Regions from separate parts of the Homo sapiens genome. Here region 2 is linked to region 1. The links are contacts of gene promoters, found by promoter capture Hi-C in blood cells and fetal thymus (Javierre and others, 2016). All regions are on one chromosome and are shown on one strand. The core of a region is centred on a gene start or on the middle of the fragment in contact, and the rest is flanking DNA. Distances in the headings are between cores, read along the strand shown.

Region 1 (4,674 bases), core at 1,507-4,006:
TTGATGGAATGAGGAATAAAAGAATGAATCATAATAATGATTATTAATTTTATTCTGATTCATGTTTTATAACATAATCTTTAAAAACTCATATGCATTTCTTAAGTGCTGAAATTATAAATCATCATCATCATTATTATTTTGGCCCTAGTAAACAAGCCCTTATACATAAAACTACCAGCCCAGTAATTGGCACATAGTATATATTCAATAAATATGGCCTTTTTATCTCCTCACTCCTCATGTCCATATGGAATATAAAAATAATCTAAATTCTTGAAGACTAGTAAATATGAAATTGTACTCGAATAAGCGTGTTCTGATATCCTACTCTTTTTTTCTAAAGTATGTTAAATTACATCATGAAAATCAAGAACATTTAAACCAACAGTTCTATGAATAATCGTATTTTCACAGTGTTCTTCGCTCCTAGACAGAATGAATCTGGGTGCATACAATGCCTCTACAAAACAAGCTAGGTTTTACACAAATATAAAACCAAGACAAAATGCAGCCTTTCTGCGTTTAGATGTTTACTGATAAACAGAGCAACTAGCTAGTCAGTGACAGGACGAGTTTCCTGGTACTCAGATTGACTTGAGCCATTTCTGTGAAGAGGAAGCCAGGTTGTGGAATGGGGAGCAGGGAACACAGAATCTCTAGCATATTGTTTTAAAAGGAAAACTCAAGTACCAAGTAAGATCACCTTGAACACAATCAGTGTCTATATGATTTCACAAAAGATGTTAGACTGTTCTGAACTGAGAATGTTATCCATTTGGAAAGCCATTTTTACTTGTATACCTCTTAAAAATATAGTAAGATCCTTTGTGTAACTTATTCACTAAGCAAATTGCACAAGACTTCTTCAAACTAACATTCCTATTTAATATTCACACTTTACTAGCTCAAAATGAATAGCAACTATAAAGGAGAGTCTAAAGGGGACACCTATACCAGTGTCCCCACACCCACAGGGAGGGAGCTAAGTGAATAGCCAGAGCACACAGAAGGTAACTGCCAGACCTCAAGGCTCAACCCACATTACACACCCATCCTAGAGAAAACATACACATATAAATAAATGAGAATTAAAATGTTTCATTGATTCTATCTCAATAAGGCAATCTACATACTCAAATAGCATAAAGTTTATAGCTGAGGCAAAGGAGGCATTGTGCTTAGCATTTGAGATAATTATATTAATTTTCCACTTTAGAATAAGCTGGTTTTAAAGAGATAAGGAGGAGCAGTTAGGGATTAAACAGTCACAGAGTATAGCCACCTCTTTGGTTTTTGACACAAAGATCCCTTGATTGGAATTTAATCTATTAACTTGGATTCACTTTATTTCACAAAGGAAATTAGAGGTGCCTCACTGGCCCCACTTGGTAGGTATAAACTAATATTTTACTGACAGATATAATCTTATATGCCCCGACATCCCATCACTGAGTAATACAAGTTGCCTATGGTTTTCTTGTTTTTTGCTTTCTGTCAATTTGCAAGAAGCACACGCTACTTTTAAAGAATAAACAATGGGGTGATTGATGAAGCCCACAATTACACAGCCAAGAATATTTTACAGAAGAAACATTATGTGTTTCCTGAAATTTCCACCTTGCATCATGCCCAGGTCTACGTGCTTTATTCTCTATATTTTTAAAGCATAGAATTTGAGAGTTTTGCATGTCAACAATGTCACATGGTTGTCACCCTGAAATGAGAAGAAACCAACACAGCCCAGTACCCAGAAGTATGCTCTCAAATTTCAAAGAGCAATCTCAAAGTATTAAATAGCTTAGTAAAATGCAGTTATGACTTTCCCTTGACTGAAGGGAAGAGAATTTTTAATGTAATAGCAGTAACAGTTAAAATCCTCTTAGCCCGTTATCTATAAGGCATTTTCACATTCACTATCTTATGTAAAAAGATAACTCACCAAACCAGGTGTTTAAGGACTTACCTATTTTTGCAAGGGATGCTAGAAGTATCCAGAGAGTGACCTCATAAGGAATTTGCACATAGTCATAATCCAGTTCAAAAACAGATATCCCTTCCTCTGGCTCTGAGCTGGCAGCAGCAAACCAAGCGTTAGATGCATACTGAGCAGTGGAATTTGCAGATTCATTCAAATCAGAAGATGCTTCAGAACACTCAAGAGCCACTAGCAGTAGCAAACAATTCCAAGGACTGTAAGTCACGAACATCTGCAGAGCCATTCCTGTGGGCTTCTCCTACCTACACCCCTGTGTGGATGTGTGCCACACATCTGAAGTCGGGGAGGCTTCTAGAGAGTGACTGCATCCACCTGGGTCAAAAGTAATATAGGTACAGTCTGTGGGTCCTCCCAAGAAGATTCCGAGTGTGTTATTGAGCTCTGTATGTAGACACTTTCTAATCTGGTTTAAATCGTTTGTGTTCAGGCAACTCAGCTTCCAACTCAAATGCAGTTATTCAATAGACTTGTTAAAGTCCATGGAGCTACCTGGAGGACCTCCATCCAATCATGGCTTGAGCAATTTATGAAAGAAATAAAAATCTCTTCACTTAAAGGCATTTCCTCATTTCACTGCATACTGGCTTTGTCTTGTGGGTGAAAATTTAAAAGGATACTGTAGTGCTCATTCCACAGATCACTGGAGTCCTTCTAATGAGGAAAGGAAACCTTCCCTGTCTATCAGATCCCAAGAAGGAGCTACCTGATCTGCGCTTGTTCCTTCTCTCCTCCCCCTGTCCTCTCATTTGTTTTGAATGACCACGGCTTCAGGTAGCTCTGGAACTACACTTAATTATTTGCTTTGATTTGACTTTTGTAATGAAATCCTTTCTCTGAGGGTTCTCTGGAGGTCACACTGCTGACACCTAGTGGGCACCTGCAATACAACACCCTTGACACTTTCAGTTATGAACGTTAAGGTGACCATGAAATTATCTAAACCAGGACACTTTGGGGAATGAATAATAATGATAATTATGCAAAGCTATAGGCACAAACCAGAATTGTCCAGCAAACTGTCTTATATGGTCTCTATACATGAGGAAGAAGGAGGATAAGAAGGAGGTGGTAACAACAAGGATGGTAGCAAACACTGAAACTTTTGCATGTTACCAGACTCCATGAGCAGTCATTCATAGAAGGAATGAAGTTCCAGATCTCTATGAACTTTACACTATAATTTTTAAAAAACAGGAAGCCAAAGAACAAGTTCCATAAATACACCTAAATACCTGGATTTGTAAAACTCCATGGCACATCCAGATTTTCCATTTAAAAAACATTTGTTGTTGTTAAAAAGAAGCAGCATCATAGAATGTTGATGAAAGAATTTTGAGATAATTTTTATGAGCCTACTTCTCGCTCTTCTACTTGTTGCCAGGTGACCTTGGTGAAGTTAATTACCTTTCAGAAATTCCTTATCTGAAACAGAGAGGAAAATATCTGCCTCATTGAGTAGCTAGGAACATTAAATGAGATAAAGCAAGTAAAGAATTTGGCATGTAGTTGGCACTTAAATGTTAGTTTTTATTTTAAATTACATTTCTTATACTTTTAGGATAAGATACAACACTTTTGCAATGATTACTGATACTCAGTAAAAAATGAGAATAATACATCATCCATATACTACCCCAACATCTCTTTTACATCAAACTGCAAGATGCTTTGTGTTTTGTTTTTTCTTAGTTCATATTAGTGAGTGCAGGGGATTTCCCCCCAGCCAACACACACACACACACACACACACACACACACACACACACACACACACTCAGCTAACATCACTGGGAAATTGAGAAAGGAATGGTTGAGAAGGGCTAACACCTAGATGCAAATTCATAGTGAGGCAATAGAATTAAAAGTTCACATATGAATATTTTTTCTTTTTCCTTCAGTTTGACTCCAGAATAGATTAGATTCAGTCACTGAAATGAGACTATCAGGTGGACTACAAGAAGGGTACACATATTGAGTCGATTATTTTTTCTCAAAGAATATATGAATATCCTTTAATAGAAAGCTGCTTTATAATAGGTGTTTTATTTTTATTTGCATTTTATTGTACTTTTCTTTCTAAAAAGAAATGAGGGAGCAAGTCTCACATAGTGCCTTGTGGAAAGACCAAAATGAAGAATCAAAAGACTTATGTACTCAGACATTAGTTATCTGATTGGCTTTGGAAAATTACCTGTTTGAGCCTTATAGTTTGAGCCTTTATAGTTTTCTCATCTATAAAATAAAGATGCTGTCCATACCTGGTAACCCTTTCCTGCTCTAAAATTCCAAATTTTGTGAGTATATGGCAACCCGTTTAGCCTTATGATCACCTGATGGCTGATAGTCCAGTCCCTCTCAGAGTAAAAATGCCAATCTTGGGAGGATGGTAAGAGAACAACTTGAGCTCTGCAACAGTCTACTAACTTGTGGTCCAGGTTAAGATGTAGCAGCCCACTTCATCAACCATCGGCATCACTTCCACTCATGCAGTACTTTCTTACAGATGTCAGAACATTCTTTCTAAAATGATTTCTTAGTATAAGGTCCCCAGAAAGTGTATGTGAGACAAAGCTTCCATGAGAAGTGCAAACTAAGGGCAGCAAAAGTGAGGGGAAAGGGGGAAGAAAGGAGAAGCTCTTCTAGAATGACAGCATAAGAAGCACCATAGATTTCCT
Region 2 (4,674 bases), core at 698-3,197, 100 kb before region 1:
ATCCCAGAGATGTAAGGATGGTTCAACAAATACAATTCAATAAACATGATACATCATATAAACAGAATTAAGGACAAAAACCATATAATCATCTTAATAAATGCAGAGAAAGCATTTGATAAAATTCAATATTCTTTCATGATAGAAACTCTCAACAAATTAAGTATCAAAGCAATATATCTCAAAACAATAATGGCCTTATATGACAAACCTACAGCTAACATGACAATATTTTCATACTGAATGGGAAAAAGTTGAAAAACTTTCCACTAATATCTAAAACAAGATAGGAATGCCCACTTTTACCACTTTTATTCAATGTCATCCTGGGAGTCTACTGCAAAATCTTATATGTAGCAAAACCTAATGACTCCACTAAAAAAACTTAGAACTGATAAATGAATTCAGTAAAGACACAGGATATAAAATCAACATGCAAAACCAGTGGCACTTCTCTATGCCAATAGCTAACAATCTGAAAAAGAAATCCCATTTATGATAGCTAAAAAATAATAAAATCCTGGAAATAAATTTTACCAAATAGGTTAAAGACCTCTACAATGAAAACTATAAAACACTTATAAAAATTATCAAAAAGAGCAAAAAATGCAAAGATATCCCATGTTCATGGATTAGAAGAATATTTTTATAATATCCATAGGGATCTACTGATTCAATGCAATTGTTATAAAAATACCAAAGACATTCTTCACAGAAACAGAGAAAAAAACCTTAAGATTTATATGGAACCACAAAAGACTCCAAATGACCAAAGCAATTTTGAGCAGAAAAGCAAAGTTGGAAATATCACTTTACCTGACTTCAAAATATACTACAAAGCTATAGTAACCAAAACCGCATAGTACTGGCATAAAAACATACACACAGACCAATGGAACAGAATAGATAACCCAGAAATAAATTCACATATTTATAGCCAACTGATTTCAACCAAGGCATCAGGAATGTAAAGTGGGGAAAGGACAGTCTCTTCAATAAATAGTGATGGGAAAACTGGATATACACATAAAGAAGAACAAAACTAGACCCATATCTCTCACCATATAAAAAAATCAATTCAAAATGGACTTAAGACTTAAATGTAAGGCTGAAACCTATGAAGCTTCTAGAAAAGAACATAGGAGAAATACTTCAGAATATTGATTTGGGCAAAGAATTTTTGGATAATACCTCAAAGGCATAGGAAATGAAAGCAAAAATAGGCAAACAGGATTATATCAAACTAAAAACCTTCTGCACAGCAAAGGAAAAAACAGAATGAAGAGACAATCTAAATGGGAGAAAATATTTTCAAATTATCCACCTAAAAGTGATTAACCTCCAGAATACATAAGAAACTCAAACAACCCAACAACAAAAAAGCAAAAAATTCTAATTAAAAATGGGCAAATAATCTGAATAGATACAAATGTCCAGTATGTATATGAAAAAATACTGAGCTTCACTAATTATCAGAGAAATGTGAATCAAAATCACATTGAGATATAAAAATAACAAATGCTGGCAATGATTTAGACAAAAAGGGACTCATACACTATTGGTGGGAATGTAAATTAGTACTGCCATTATGAAAAGAAATGATAAATGTTTGAGATGATGGATTTGCTACTGAACCTGACCTGATCCCTTTACGCCACACATATCAAAACATCCCTATGTATCCCATGAATATGTACAATTATTATTTGTCAGTTAAAAATAAAATTTAAAATACCTAAAAATAGAAATACCATGTAATTTAGCAATCCACTACTTGGAACATATCCAAAGGAAAGGAAATCAGTATGTCAAAGCAATATCTCCATTCTCATGTTTATTGCAACACTATTCACAATAGTCAAGATACAGAATCAACTTAAGTGTTCATCAATGGATAAACAGATAAAGAAAATGCGGTATAGGTACATAATAGAATACTATTTAGCCATAAAAAAGAAATCCTATTATTTGGGGCAACATAAATGAGCCTGGAAGACATTATGTTAAGTGAACCTAGGCACAGAAAGACAAATACTACCTGTTTTTACTCATATGTGGGAGCTAAAAATGTAAATCACATACAAGTAGAGAGTAAAATAATGGTTACCAGATACTGGGAAGTGTAGTGGGGAGGGGGAAATAAGGAGAGGTTGGTTAATGGGTACAAGATTACAGTTAGATAGGAGAAACAAGCTCAGTTTTCTATAGCACAGCAAGGTGACTGTGGTTAACCATAGTTGTTGTATATTTCAAAATAGTGAAAAGAGGTTTTTGAATGTTCTCAACACAAAGAAATGCTAAATGTTTGAGTTGATGGATATGCTAATTACCCTAATTTGATTATTACACATTGTATACAAATATCCATAAATATGTACAATTACTACATTTCAACTAAAATTGAAATGAAAGACGAAACACAATTATTACATACTAGAGATTGTAAAGGACATAAAAGTATAATAAGATGGTATTATGAACAGCCTCATGCCAATAAATTTGCCAACTTAGACAAAATAGAAAAAGGTATTGAAATACGCAAATCACTAAAAGTGATTTCAGAAGAAATAGTCAAATGGCTTAATATCTGCTAGAGAAATTGAGTTTATTGTTTAAAAACCTTACCACAAATAAACTATAAGTTTAGATGGTTTTACACACAAGTCCTATCAAATATTTAATGAGGAGATAACACCAAACCTATGTGAACTCTTTGAAAAGATACAGGGAAATACATCACATCTCATTTTATGAAGCCAGTATAAGCTTAGTATCAAAACATGTTAAGGGCATTACCAAGCAGAGATAATGGTAGACCAATATTATTCATGAACAAAGATACATCAATCTTCAACAAAAATATTAGCGATAGGATCCAGGAATATATTAAAAACTACTACATGATGATCAAGTTGGGTTTATCTCAGGAATGAAAGGGTAGTTCAACATTTTAAAATTAATAAAAAAGTTAATTTGTTTACTACATTAACAAAATAAAAAATAAAAATGATTTGATTACTGTATTAGATTCTGATAAAGCATTTGATGTAATATACAATCCATTAATGTAAAAATTCTTAAATTAGAAATAGAAGAGAACTTACTCTGATAACAGGTGTCTATTAATCCCCCTCCACAGTTAACTTAATGCTTACTGGTTAATTAATGATGAATTTTCGGGGGAGAGGGAGGAGCCAAGATGGCCGAATAGGAACAGCTCCGGTCTACAGCTCCCAGCGTGAGTGACGCAGAAGACAGGTGATTTCTGCATTTCCATCTGAGGTACCGGGTTCATCTCACTAGGGAGTGCCAGACAGTGGGCGCAGGCCAGTGTGTGTGCGCACCGTGCGCGAGCCGAAGCAGGGCGAGCATTGCCTCACCTGGGAAGCGCAAGGGGTCAGGGAGTTCCCTTTCCGAGTCAAAGAAAGGGGTGACGGACGCACCTGGAAAATCGGGTCACTCCCACCCGAATATTGCGCTTTTCAGACCGGCTTAAGAAACGGCGCACCACGAGACTATATCCCACACCTGGCTCAGAGGGTCCTACGCCCACGGAATCTCGCTGATTGCTAGCACAGCAGTCTGAGATCAAACTGCAAGGCGGCAACGAGGCTGGGGGAGGGGCGCCCGCCATTGCCCAGGCTTGCTTAGGTAAACAAAGCAGCCGGGAAGCTCGAACTGGGTGGAGCCCACCACAGCTCAAGGAGGCCTGCCTGCCTCTGTAGGCTCCACCTCTGGGGGCAGGGCACAGACAAACAAAAAGACAGCAGTAACCTCTGCAGACTTAAGTGTCCCTGTCTGACAGCTTTGAAGAGAGCAGTGGTTCTCCCAGCACGCAGCTGGAGATCTGAGAACGGGCAGACTGCCTCCTCAAGTGGGTCCCTGACCCCTGACCCCCGAGCAGCCTAACTGGGAGGCACCCCCCAGCAGGGGCACACTGACACCTCACACGGCAGGGTATTCCAACAGACCTGCAGCTGAGGGTCCTGTCTGTTAGAAGGAAAACTAACAACCAGAAAGGACATCTACACCAAAAACCCATCTGTACATCACCATCATCAAAGACCAAAAGTAGATAAAACCACAAAGATGGGGAAAAAACAGAACAGAAAAACTGGAAACTCTAAAACGCAGAGCGCCTCTCCTCCTCCAAAGGAACGCCGTTCCTCACCAGCAACAGAACAAAGCTGGATGGAGAATGATTTTGACGAGCTGAGAGAAGAAGGCTTCAGACGATCAAATTACTCTGAGCTACGGGAGGACATTCAAACCAAAGGCAAAGAAGTTGAAAACTTTGAAAAAAATTTAGAAGAATGTATAACTAGAATAACCAATACAGAGAAGTGCTTAAAGGAGCTGATGGAGCTGAAAACCAAGGCTCGAGAACTACGTGAAGAATGCAGAAGCCTCAGGAGCCGATGCGATCAACTGGAAGAAAGGGTATCAGCAATGGAAGATGAAATGAATGAAATGAAGCGAGAAGGGAAGTTTAGAGAAAAAAGAATAAAAAGAAATGAGCAAAGCCTCCAAGAAATATGGGACTATGTGAAAAGACCAAATCTACGTCTGATTGGTGTACCTGAAAGTGATGTGGAGAATGGAACCAAGTTGGAAAACACTCTGCAGGATATTATCCAGGAGAACTTCCCCAATCTAGCAAGGCAGACCAACGTT

The links. Contacts are between HindIII fragments. The CHiCAGO score rates a contact against its expected background, and 5 or more counts as called.
Region 2: a contact is called between a fragment that was not itself captured here and the fragment with the promoter of SLC9A4 in region 1, in 1 of 17 cell types (M2 macrophages). The highest score is 5.2, in M2 macrophages.

The regions. Positions count from the first base shown.
Region 1 is chr2:102,471,308-102,475,981 of GRCh38, reverse strand. SLC9A4 (solute carrier family 9 member A4) reads right to left here and starts at 2,756. Exons shown (of 12, transcript NM_001011552.4): 1 at 1,967-2,756. The coding sequence starts at 2,222. The HindIII fragment of the contact is 5,984 bases long and covers 1-4,572 here.
Region 2 is chr2:102,570,896-102,575,569 of GRCh38, reverse strand. No RefSeq gene overlaps it. Among named protein-coding and RNA genes, the nearest start is that of SLC9A2, 46 kb to the left of the region's middle. The HindIII fragment of the contact is 1,643 bases long and covers 1,126-2,768 here.